Linked DNA regions of Homo sapiens: region 2 is linked to region 1. The links are contacts of gene promoters, found by promoter capture Hi-C in human tissues and cell types (Jung and others, 2019). All regions are on one chromosome and are shown on one strand. Each heading gives the region's core, a stretch centred on a gene start or on the middle of the fragment in contact. The rest is flanking DNA. Distances are from core to core; before and after follow the strand shown. Region 1 overlaps DNAI2 (dynein axonemal intermediate chain 2). Region 2 holds the start of DNAI2 (dynein axonemal intermediate chain 2).

What was found. Contacts are between HindIII fragments. The study calls those that stand out against the background at their distance.
Region 2: the fragment with the promoter of DNAI2 here is called in contact with a fragment that was not itself captured in region 1 in 2 of the 25 tissues and cell types used here (liver and pancreas).

What each region holds. Positions count from the first base shown.
Region 1 is chr17:74,306,419-74,311,846 of GRCh38, forward strand. It overlaps DNAI2 (dynein axonemal intermediate chain 2), which reads left to right. Exons shown (of 14, transcript NM_023036.6): 10 at 2,835-2,970; 11 at 3,599-3,745. It overlaps LOC105371891 (a long non-coding RNA gene), which reads right to left. Exons shown (of 4, transcript XR_934971.3): 3 at 5,280-5,428; 4 at 3,839-3,989. Among named protein-coding and RNA genes, the nearest start is that of KIF19, 17 kb to the right of the region's middle. The HindIII fragment of the contact is 9,299 bases long and covers 1-5,428 here.
Region 2 is chr17:74,269,462-74,276,951 of GRCh38, forward strand. It overlaps DNAI2 (dynein axonemal intermediate chain 2), which reads left to right and starts at 4,773. Exons shown (of 14, transcript NM_023036.6): 1 at 4,773-4,884. The HindIII fragment of the contact is 25,570 bases long and covers 1-7,490 here.

The sequences.
Region 1 (5,428 bases), core at 2,858-5,357:
TGCCATGTGTATTGTGCATTGCATGTATAAATAATTACTTTTTTCTCTTGCTAAAAAAAACATCCTGGGGTTCCTTTCCTGCCCACAGAACCACAGACTCCTGCAACGTCAAAGCCACCAGCAACCCTAATGAGCATCTTTGGTTCCAGTGCTTCCCAAATCTGGTTGCATCAGAATATCTTGGGAGGAGTTTTTGTTTGTTTGTTAAAATGCTTTTGAGATGGAGTCTTACTCTGTCACCCAGGCTGAAGTGCAATGGCGAGATCTCGGCTCACTGCAACCTCCACCTCCCGAGTTCATGCGATTCTCCTGCCTTATCCTCCTGAGTAGCTGGGATTACAGGCGCACGCCAGCACACCCAGCTAATTTTTGTATTTTTAGTATAGACAGAGTTTCCCCATGTTGGCCAGGCTGGTCTCAAACTCCTGACCTCAGGTGATTCGCCTGCCTCAGCCTCCCGAAGGGCTGGGATTACAGGCATGAGCCACCGTGCCTGGTGGAGGAGTGATTTTTTTAAAATCCAGATTCTCAGCCCCAACCCTGGGGGTACTAACATAGAATCTTGGGCTTAGCCCAGGAATGGGTTTGCTAAGGAGCAACCCCAGGCTTGTGACTCAGCCAGTCCTTGCTTTGGGAGCAGAAACCTGGTTCGATGTCCTCATTCTACAGGGGTGGGAACGCTGGCTGACAAGGGCAGTGCATTGTTCCAGGCCTCATAGCAAGTAGGGGGTTCCCAGTAGATGTGAAGCCCTTTACAGGCTTTAGGAGCCTTCCCAATGTCTTCAGGTCCTGCAGGCTGCCAGGGCTGTGTGAAAGGAGCAGGGTGTCGAGCACAGCACCCATAGGCCTTTCGCAGGGCTGGTTCCTAGAGGGACTTGGTGGACCTGTGTCGTAGAACCTGGGTCTCCCTTGTCCTCCTCCTGCATAAGGTTAAACAAATTTAGCAAATAAGAATATTTGACCCTGGGCCAGGTGCAGTGGGCTAATGCCTGTAATCCCAGCACTTTGGGAGGCTGAGGCGGGAGGATCACTTGAGGTCAGGAGTTCAAGACGAGCCTGGCCAATATGGTGAATCCCCATCTCTAATAAAAATACAAAAAATCAGCTGGGCTTGGTGGCTAACGCCTGTAATCCCAGCACTTTGGGAGGCCGAGGCGGGTGGATCACCTGAGATCAGGAGTTCAAGACCAGCCGAGATTGCGCCACTGCACTCCAGCCTGGGCGACAGAGTGAGACTCCGTCTCAAAAAAAAATAATATTTGGCACTTAGTTAAATCTGAATTTTAAAAAAAAAAACTATTTTTTTTTTAGTATAAGTATGTCCCATGCAATATTTGGTATATACTTATACTAAAAATTATTCATTGTCCAAAAATCTCCAGATGTTTCTTTTTTTGGGGGGATGAAGTCTCTTTGTTGCCCAGGCTGGAGTGCAGTGGCACGATCTTGGCTCACTACAACCTTCACCTCCTGGGTTCAAGCAATTCTTCTGCCTCAGCCTCCTGAGTAGCTGGGATTACAGGCGCCCACCAACACCCCTGGATAATTTTTTTATTTTTAGTAGAGGCAGGGTTCTGCCATGTTGGCCAGGCTGATCTCAAACTCCTGACCTCAGGTGATCCACCATTCTCGGCCTCCCAAAGTCCTGGGATGACAGGCATGAGCCACCGCGCCCGGCCCAGATCCTTTCTTTAGTCTTGATCATTTCTCCCACTGTGGTCTGGCTGTCAACACACTAGGTTTGCAAAGGTGACTGGGAAGTGTAGTCTGCCTTGCTCACCAGGGGCCCAGCTACAACTATATTGCAATGGAGGAAGGGAGAGGAGGTCTGGGTGAAAATCTGAAGGCTGCACTGTGTGTGTGTCCCTTTTAAAAAAATGTTCCGTCTTCACTGAAGAAACTCTTGAAAACCCAGATGAAACCAAGTAGGAAGTGACACTCTCCTTATCTCAGCGGTAGCAGCTTTTCTGGGCATGTCCTTCCTCTGACTCCCATCCGTGAGTCCCAGGGCTGGGACCAGGTCCAGCAACACGTGCCTGCTGCCTGGAGTTAGCAGCAGAGAAATGCCAGTGGCCAGCCCACGGGAAGGACTGTGCCCAGAGCCCTTTCTTTATTTTATTTGAGACAGGGTCTCACTACGTTGCCCAGGCTGGAGTACAGTGGCACAAACATGGCTCACTGCAGCCTCGACCTCCTGGGCTCAAGCGATCCTCCCATCTCAGCCTCCCGAGGAGCTGGGACCACAGGTGCTCACCACCACACCCGGCTAATTTTTTTATTTTTTGTAGAAACAGGGTCTTTCCATGTTGTCCAGGCTGGTCTCAAAATCCTGGCTTCAAGCGATCTTCCTGCCTTGGCCTCCCAAAGTGCTGGGATTACAGGCACATGACCAGCCCAGAGCCCTTTAAAGAACAGCCTGTCAGACACCTGAGGTCAAGAGTTTGAGAGCAGCCTGGCCAACATGGTGAAACCCCATCTCTAGCAAAAATAAAATATTAGCTGGGTGTGGTGACGGGCGCCAGTAATCCCAGTTACTCGGGAGGCTGAGACAGGAGAATTGCTTGAACCCAGGAGGCAGAGATTGCAGTGAGCCGACATCGTACCACTGCACTCCAGCCTGGGCAACAGAGCAAGAGTGTCTCAAAAAAAAAAAAAAAAAAAGCAACCTGTGAGCTGTGGATGAGTGAGGTCAGCACAGCTAGAAGTCAGACACAAGGAAGAACTTCCTACCTAGCAAGACTCTGAGATCCTGGAGCCCAGAAGGGACCAAGTGAGCCAAGCTGTGGCTCAGAAGCCTCTGTCCCTCCAACCATGATGTGGTCTACCTCCCACAGGTACCACATGGCTTACCTCACTGATGCTGCCTGGAGCCCCGTGAGGCCGACCGTTTTCTTTACCACCAGGATGGACGGAACCCTGGATATCTGGGACTTCATGTTCGAGCAGTGCGATCCCACCCTCAGCTTGAAGGTCACGCGCATGTCCCTCCTTGTGCATCCAGGTCCTCAGGGAGCCAGGTCCCGGCGTGGGTGTGAGTGTGGGGTGCTGTGAGCACGTGTGCAGTGTGTGGCCAGGTGTGTTTGGGCCTCTGTGGGGGAGCCGTGTGCAGGCTGACTGCAGCGATTGCTTTTGAGCGTGTGCTCCTACAAAGGTTAAGGGGCCTGGGGGATTTGGCATCCTGGTAGCACAACAGAACCACCTGGGGGAAATTTAAAAAGAAACAAAAGCAGGTACCCGGCATCTCCTACCCACAGGCCGATTCCTTCAGAGCCCCTGGGGTTTGGCTGCTGGACCTTCCCCTTCATGTCAGGGTGGCCAGAGCTGAGCCCCACTGGCTGGGGCCACGGAAGGGTGGGGGCATTGGGGAACCACAGGGTGACTGTGAGGCGGAACTGAAGGGGTGGGGCGGGAGATGAGGCAGGGAAGCCAGGAGCCTTGACAACCAGTCTCCGAGTTTGAACTTCATCCTGTGGGCAGAGGCGTCCTGAGGATGTTTGAATAGGGCCAAGTGGCTGAGCCTCCCCAGGGGCCAGTTAATCAGACACACATAACTTTGCTCCTCTCTCCTCTACCTGGGTCTGCCCGGCCCCTTCAATAGGTGTGTGACGAGGCCCTCTTCTGCCTCCGGGTGCAGGACAATGGGTGTCTCATCGCCTGCGGCTCCCAGCTGGGGACAACCACCCTGCTGGAGGTCTCGCCTGGGCTCTCTACCCTCCAGAGGAATGAGAAGAACGTAGCCTCTTCCGTAAGCACCGGGTGCCTGGGGAAAATCCCTCCAGCACGTCCCGACCTGGCCCCACAGCAGAGCAGGCTAGTCAGACAAATAGATGGCCCCGCCCTCCCACCCCCAGAACATAGGTGCACATTTTGGGGGAAGCAGTGTGGGCTCCATAAATAGGTGTTGGTGTGTCCATTTGCCTTTGCTCAACTGCTGGGTAGCTAAGTGGCCTTCAGTAAGTCACGTCACTCTCCAGGATTCAGTTTTTTACCTGTAAATCAAAGAGGTTCGACTTGGTCAGTTTGTCTAGTTTCAAATAACACTTTTTTTTTTTTGTGGAAACTTTCCAATGAAGGCTTAGTATTGTATTATATTATATTGTATTTTAATTTAATTATTTTTATTTATTTATTTATTTTTGAGACAAAGTCACGCTCTGTTGCCCAGGCTGGAGTGCAATGGTGAGATCTAGGCTCACTGCAATCTCTGCTTCCCAGGTTCAAGTGATTCTCCTGCCTCAGCCTCCTGAGTACCTGGGATTACAAGTGCATACCACCACGCCCAGCTAATTTTTGTATTTTTAATAGAGACAGGATCTCACCATACTGGCCAGGCTGGTCTTGAACTCTTGACCTTAAGATGATCTGCCCACCCTGGCCTCCGAAAGTGCTGGGATTATAGGCGTGAGCCACCGTGCCCAGCCTAATTATTTTATTTATTTTTATTTTATCAGTTTATTTTATTTTACTTCATTTTGAGACAGGGTCTTGCTTTGTTGCCCAGGCTGGAGTGCAGTGGCACAATCATGGCCCACTGCAGCCTCTACCTCCCAGGCTGAATCGGTCCTCCCACCTCAGCCTCCTGAGTTGCTGGGACCACAGGCATGCACCACCATGCCTGGCTCATTTTTTAATTTTTGTAGAGACAGGGTCTCCTTATGTTGCCCAGGCTGGTCTGAAACTCCAGGGCTCAAGCAATCCTTCCACCTCAGCCTCCCAAACTGCTGGGATTATAGGCATGAGCCACCACGCCCAGCCTGAAGACTTAGTAGAATGCTAATAGGGAAGCCAGATAGAAGGGGACTTGAAGAGGGGGACTGAGATCCATTCCTACATCCTTTCCCCAGTGGACAGCCCTGCAGGCAACCCCCCAGAACCATGGGGAACACTGTGGAACTGAAAACCCCTAGTGCTAGGGCCGGGTGTGGTGGCTCACGCCTGTAATCCCAGCACTTTGGGAGGCCGAGGCGGGCAGATCACCTGAGGTCGGGAGTTCGAGACCAGCCTGACCAACATGAAGAAACCTCGTCTCTACTAAAAATAGAAAATTAGCCAGGCATGGCGTCACATGCCTGTAATCCCAGCTCCTTGAGAGGCTGAGGCAGGAGAATTGCTTGAACGTGGGAAGCAGAGGTTGTGGTGAGCCGAGATCGTGCCATTGCATTCCAGCCTGGGCAACAAGAGTGAAACTCTGTCTCAAAAACAAAACAAAACAAAAAAGGAAAACCCCTAGTGCTGAGGCCTGGAGAGCCTCCTGGCTCTGCCTGAGACTGGGATCTCACCATTGAGCTGGTCCTTGTTGGGCCAAAGCCGCCATATTTCATAGCTCCAAAGGGCGCTCTTCTGCCTGTGGTTCTGGAACTCCATGCTCCTTGGCATTGAGTAACTCAGTGTCCCTGCTGCAGCCTTCCAACCCCAATATTCAGCCCTC
Region 2 (7,490 bases), core at 3,523-6,022, 36 kb before region 1:
CCCAGCTCTGTAGGAGGCTGAGGCATGAGAACTGCTTGAACCTGGGAGGTGGAGGTTGTAGGAAGCCAAGGTCGCACCACTGCACTCCAGCCTAGGGACAGAGCAAGACTTTGTCTCGAAAAAAAAAAAAAAAAAAAGAGTTTCAACCTTTCCAAAGTCTCCTTTTCCAGTTGATCCCAGAAATGCACTCGGATATGGCTCCTACTCTGTCTTCCACTCTCCTATTTTGCTTTCTTTGGACACGGACTACGAATGACTTTTTTTCATTCTGGGGCCCCTTATTTCCCAAGAAAAGCCACACCTGCATGAGTGGAGTATGTCCCTTGGCAAGAACAGCTGCCTCTGGTTAGTCAAATATTGCTCAGAGCTCTAGAAAAGCAGAAGGCAAGGGACCTTGAGGAGGGCTCAGCAGGACTGACCCCAGGACTACAGTTCCAGAAAAAATACAAGGGAGTTTGGGCATGGTGGCTCACGCCTGTAATCCCAGCACGTTGGGAGGCCGAGGCAGGTGGATCACCTGAGGTCAGGAGTTCGAGACCAGCCTGGCCAACATGGCGAAACCCCGTCTCTACTAAAAAATACAAAAATTAGCCGGGCATGGTGGCGCGTGCCTGTAATCCCAGCTACTTGGGAGGCTGAGGCAGGAGAATCACTTGAACCAGGGAGGCGGAGGTTGCAGTGAGCCGAGTTCATGCCACTGCACTCCAGCCTGGGCGAAAGAGCAAAACTCCGTCTCAAAACAACAACAACAAAAAGAATGCAAGGTAGCCTTGCCCTGGGGTGGCAGAATGGCAGAGAGAGATCTGGTCTGCATTAGCAAAAGTGCAACTAGTGTTACTTAACCGCTAGCAACATGAGGGCTTGGTGGGCTTGCCATTGATGTGATGAATTCCATCCTGGGAAGCTTTTACAAACCAGGCCCTCCCACAAGCACTGTGACTATGAAGATGAATAGAATGAGGTTTCCACTTTCTAGGCACTCACAGTCCTGGAAGGAAGCTGGCGAGGCAGGCAGACGCTTTGGTAAGGGGGTGCCGCAGCAGCGAGCCGGCAGAACGTGCTGCCTGCATCTCACTCCTGCAAACCACGTGCAGCTTGTTTTCAACATTGGCGGGAAGAGCAGATGGTTCCTACCAAATGTTATTGTATTGCACATTATGAGCCAAGCAAAGTTAAGTCTAAAAAAGTGACTAACGAATCTCTCATGCAGGATTCCAAATAATTTATCTAGATACTCTGCCTTCGAGAAGGTAGCACAAGGCTGGGTGTGGTGGCTCATATCTGTAATACCAGCACTTTGGGAGGCCAAGGTGGGTGAGTCGCTTGAGCTCAGGAGTTTGAGACCAGCCTGAGCAACATGGTAAGACCCTGTCTGTACAAAAAGTACAAAAAAAATAGCCAGGTGTGATGGTGCACACTTGTGGTCCCAGCTACTCGGGGGGCTGAGGTAGAAGGATTACTTGAGCTGGGGTGGGGCGGAAGTTGCAGTGAGGTGAGATTGCACCACTGCACTCTAGCCTGGGTGACAGAGGGAGACCCTGTCTCAAAAAAAAAAGAACGGTAAAACATAGGCTGGGTGCAGTGGCTCACACCTGTAATCCCAGCACTTTGGGAGGCCAAGGCAGGAGGATCGCTTGAGCCTAGGAGTTGGAGACCAGCTTGGGCAACATAGGGATGACACAGGGCAGGTAAGGCCCAAATTGAGGCTTAGCCCGGGAGGGTTCTTGGCTTTGCCCAGGAAAGAATTCAAGGGTGAGCCAGTGGCAGAGGAAAACTGCTTGATTGAGGTGGCAGTGCTACAGCTCATGACTGCTCCTGCAGAGCAGGGCTACCTGTAGGCAGTGTGCAGAGACTAGCAGCTCAGAAGCAGTTTTGCAGTCATATTTATGCCCATTTTTAATTACATGCAAATTAAGAGGTGGATCATGCAGACATTTCTAGAAAAAGGGTGGTAACATTCAGGTCATTGGGTCATTGCCATGGAAGGGGTGGATAACTTCCAGGTGTTGCCATGGCAATGGTAAATTGACATGGCACACTGGTGGGCGTGTCTTATGGAGAGCTGCTTCCGCCTCTTCCCTATTTTAGCTAGCCCTCAGTCTGGTCTGGTGTCTGAGCCCTGCCTCCAGAATCAAGTCCTGCCTCTTACCTGTGGCTACAAAAAATGAAAAAAATTAGCCGAGCATGGGTATGTGCACCTGTGTTCCCAGCTACTTGGGAGGCTGAGGAGGGGGGCTCGCTTGAGCCCTGGAGGTTGAGGCTGCAGTGAGCCATGATTACACCACTGTACCCCAGCCTGGGCGACAGAGCGAGACCAAAAAACAATGTGAATGAACTTAATACCACTGAACTATACACTGAAAAATGGTTAAGATGGTAAATTTTATGTGTAGTTCACCACGCACACAAAAATTGGGACTAAAGGGGGACACAGCAGTGGAACGGGTTGTGGCAATGCCTGGGGATGTCCAGGGCCAGGGGCGGCTCTCAGCAAAGAATTTCTGCTGCCAATTATGCTGTGATTGGGTGAAGATCTGAGAGGCACCGCAATTGTTTTCAAACTAGGTCCTTGTGAATACTTCTAATTATATGACCTCACGCCGAGGCAGCCGGCCAAGGGGTAACTGTTTGGCCAGTGAACAGAGCTGCCCTCTGTGGTCGGTGGCCTGCAGCCTTCTGGGTGAGGGTGGGGGTGGGGAGCCTGTACTAAATTGTTGGATAATATGGTAAAGGTGGCTGCAGTTTCCTTTCAACTTTTCCTATTTCCCCTTCTAACCCACTTTCCCACCCACAAAATAATGTGTCTTCAGAGAGCCCTCGGCTTCCCAGGGCTGGAGGTGGAGTGGAAAGGGTTGCATTATGATTGCAACCCCAGCCAGCCACTACCTCATCATGGAGTGGATCGTTTCCTATTCTTGGAGACTTTGGGTCTGATTCACCTCTGACCACACAAAGCCATTTCAATGCGTCTTTCAGGAGCTCCTCCACCCAGCCCCTGTCAGGACCCTCAGCACCCACCCCTAAGAGTTCTTTGTCCCGAGAAACTGGTGCGAGCCAGAACGGATCAGGAGAGATTGGTGGCAGCAGTCATTTAGGTGCTTGTCTTTGGTTAGTGCGGCCCTGCAAGGTGCCGTCTCATTGGGAATTTCCTTGCACCTGCCCCACTAAAGGCAGGTGGGTAGTGGTGACAACACATATATGGAGAAGTTGGGAAGTGGGAGAGAAACGTTTGCTTCCTTCCTGTCCTTTCACAGATCCCAAACCCGCTGAGGGCTTCCCATGGAAAGCTGTCTGGGCCCCTCAGCCTGCCTCTCTTGGGACCCCCCACAGACTGGCCCTGGCTGACCTTTGCAAATTCCTCTCTCATTTTTCCCCTGCAGGGACTCTCAACCCCAGCCAGACTGATCCACCCACCATCCTCGCAAAATGCCTTTCTTCCATGACGACTGCCCCTTCCTTCCTTGCTCACGCCATGCCCTCCCCCAATCTGGAACGCCCTCCCCACTCCTCTTCCCTGCAACTCATAACCATTTTTCAAGGCCCAGTTCCAACCCCAATCCCACTTCTTGGATGACGCACTCCTCTTCTGTCCCAGTCCAAATTTCCGATGTCAGCATCTGAACTCGGGATAACCTCATTCCCCGAGCTGCCACTCATTCAGGCACCAGTAGCTCTGGACGGGGGCTGGACACGCCCCTGTGTTGTCTCTCACTTAATCCTCCCCATTATCTAATAAGCACCGCCACTGTCCTGCCACTTTGCAGATGAGGATAGCTGAGTCTTAGAAAAGGAAAGGAACTTGCCCAGGGCCATGAGATTAGTAGGTAGCCAATCTGGGATTCAAATTCATTTTTTTCTAGCCCCAAATTCCCTTGTTTTAATTTACATGATCGCAATTGCCTTAACTCCCTGAGAAACATGACTCGTTTCATTCATTCAACCATTCATTCAATGAACACAGTACATTTCGTGCCAATCACCCAGCTAAGCTGTAAAAATCCCCAGCTTTGCCGGGCGCGGTGGCTCACGCCTGTAATCCCAGCACTTTGGGAGGCCGAGGCAGGCGGATCACAAGGTCAGGAGATCGAGACCATCCTGGCTAACACGGAGAAACCCCGTCTCTACTAAAAATACAAAAAATTAGCCGGGCGTAGTGGCGGGCACCTGTAGTCCCAGCTACTCGGGAGGCTGAGGCAGGAGAATGGTGTGAACTCGGGAGGCGGAGCTTGCAGTGAGCCGAGATCGCGCCACTGCACTCTAGCCTGGGCGACAGAGCGAGACTCCGTCTCAAAAAAAAAAAAATTCCCCAGCTTCTACTCCCAAGGAGTTTCCATTCTGGTGGTGCGGGAAGATGTCTTTATTACAGAAAGTGGAGGAAGGATGGTAGCAGAGGGGAGGGCAGAGTTATAATTCCCACTGAATGGATGCGGAAACTGAAGGAAGGCAGGACAACACAGTCGGCCAAGATGGTAAGCAGAGCCCGCCATCACCACCCAGGGATCAGGGCTTCCCAAGCACTGACTATTCTTCCTTGCATTTTCTGGGTGCCTTGCTCGATGCAAATGCATACAAACGTAGGCTTGGATAAGCGCCTTGGCAACGCCCCTACAAATATTCATGATCATTATTAGTATGTTACCAACCTATTGGTTAATTCTTCTCCTAACTCAGGAGACCTCCAAAAAGAAGAGGGATGGCCTGCGCTTCCGACGTGGCAGGAAAGGAGTCACGTGCTCCGGGGTCCTTCCGCGTCGCCCCGCGCGTCCGGAGCCAGGCCGGGGTTGCCAAGCAACCGGTAAACGCCGCCGTTTGAGGAGCACCGGAGCCGCGACCGTGGATTGAACGCTTCCCCAGAGACCCAGAAGCAGAAGGAGCGGACCCAGGGTAAGGGGCGGGCGCCAGGAGGACGTCGGAGGCTAAAGACTAGAGTGGAGAGTGACAGGGAGAGACTTACAGGGTAATAACCACCAAGAGTGCCAAACATTCCTCTTGGGGGGCTTCCTTCTGGGATAGCTCTGCCAGATGGTGGCTGCCAGGACTAGCGCTCCTAGTGCCCTCTTCCCCTTAGTCCTCGCTGCCCTGGATCCGCCCCAAGTCGCAGGACCCTGCAGCCTCTGTACACCCTGCCTCATACCCTCCTACCCACTCAGGTCCTGATACAGTCCTTGTCCTGGAGTGGACTGGAGACCTCTGAAGGATTTACAGCTGAATGGATGGAAAAAAAAGAAGAAAAACAGCCTCCGGCTAGGGTGATGGGAAGATGGGCCCTTTAAGAGGAGAGCTTTCTGCTCAGGATAGAGGGATGTAAATTAACAGTATTGCACACCTGCTAGGTGGCAGGTGTTTTAAGTGCTTTCTTTCATTTCTTCCTCAACCTGGGAGCTGGCGTTCTCGTGTGATCGAGGTCATACAGTTGGTGAGTTCCTCCGGAGCGTGTGCAGTTCCTCCTTCCTGCTCAAGGTCAAGGTTTACCACATTCTCTTGAACCACAGAAGTGCGTCTTCTCCCAGCTTTCAGACCCTATGTGTTTTCCTCTCGAATCCTTGGTTTCAAATCCTTTGCTTGTTTGTCACGGTCAGCAGAGGAGGAACAGGGGAGAGAGCTGTAGAGAGAAGCCTGGTAGGCGCTGGTATCACAGTCACTAACGCAGCAGGTGACAGGAGTCTTGGGCCCCTTCTATGTGCCAGTCCCTGGGGACGGGAGTGAATAAAAGACCACAGTCTTTCCGTCAAGGAGACCACAAGGTAGTTGTGAGGGCAGGTAGTCACTGACCCCCATCGGTCTCCAATTCTGGGGACCTCTTCCCAACTCGTCCTGCCCTCAACCTTCACTTTCCTTGGGGGGCTCAGCCATGCTTAGTGCTATCCTGGGGGAAAATAAATGGGGGCTTTCTAGGGAGGTCTGCCTCTTTTGAGGGTAGAGTGAGTCCCTCAGGACCCCGGAATTCCAGAAGGTGCACAAGGACATAAGAAAGAGAAAGAAAGCTGGGTGCGGTTTTCACACCTGTAATCCCAGTGCTTTGAGAGGCCCAGGAGGATGGATCACTTGAGGTCAGGAGTTTGAGACCAGCCTGCCCAACATGGTGAAACCCCATCTTTACTAAAAATACAAAAATTCTGGCCGGGTGCAGTGGCTCACGCCTGTAGTCCCAGCTACTCGGCAGGTGGAGGCAGAAGAATTGCTTAAACCTGGGAGGTGGAGGTTGCAGTGAGCTGAGATCAGGCCACTGCACTCCAGCCTAGGTGACAGACTGAGACTCCGTCTCAAAAAAAAAAAAAATTAGCCGAGTGTGGTGGCATGCACCAGTAGTCTCAGCTACTCAGGAGACTGAGGCACAAGAATCGCTTGAACTTGGGAGGCAGAGGTTGGAGTGAGCCAATATCACACCACTGCACTCCAGCCTGGGTGACAGAGCAACACTGTCCCAAAAGCAACAACAACAAAGAAAGAGGGAAGGAAGTCCTCTCCTGCCAGGTGCCATGCAGGGCCCACCACTCGCAGGAACCCAGTAGGGGCTGTACCAGGGACCAAGAAGAAGAGGAAAATGTTCTCATCTCCTTATTCCACTAGGGAGTTCAATGTGGAGGGCTGACCTTCCAGCTTGCCTCCTTCCCAGTCTCCCACGCTGACACTCCTCCTCCCCATCACTCCCTTGGCCTTCCTCCCAGCTTGGAAAACACACTTTCCCTTAAGCCACCGGAGGTTCTCTCCAGGAATTACTTTGCTCATTCTCACTGCACAAGACGAGTTTTGTTTTTATAGTGAGTGAAGGTTCCCATCTGACTGCCTCCCCGGGGATGCGGGAGACGCCTGAATCTTTGATGTCTGGACCACAGCGTCCCTGATTCTGCGTGTTCCTGTGTTTGAGACTCACAGTGGTGTTCTTCACGCCTCTGGGACTCTAGGTTCCCACGGGGGGAGGATCTCCCCCCAAAACTCCAGAGGGCAGTGACACTGCTCCCGTCCCCGCTCTGTCACCCCATGCAGACACTCCTGCTCAGGCCTTGCTTGGGGAAGCCCACCCTCTAGCACTAGTCTCACAAGAGGTTGGGGGAGACCTCCTGAGACGCCCTTTGCTGACCTTGCTATTCATCTGTGTGCCCTGCTAGCTTGTGAGAAGAGCTTGCTCTGGGTCCTTGAATGGGTTGTCTTCCCGTCACCAGGCCAGTCTTTAAATGTCCCCTCTGTCTGCCTCCAGACACAAGACAATGCCTCTGTTCTCACTCGGGGCTTGGCCTTGGGAAACACCAAGAAGGAAAGCAAAGCTGTTAAAAATCTGATCTGGGCTAAAGAGGCTATTTCTGTCTTCCTGGAGTTTCCTCATTCTCTTCAATCTCCTTGTGTCCCCTAGGAGCCAGCTGGCTTGCAGCAATTTCTTTTAAAAGTCAGAGACAGGCAGCCCTAATTGCCTGAGTCCTGCAGCCCCATGTGGGAGGCACAGTTGCTTCACACTGTGTTGGCAAAGGGGAGGATGCCACGGGATTTGCATG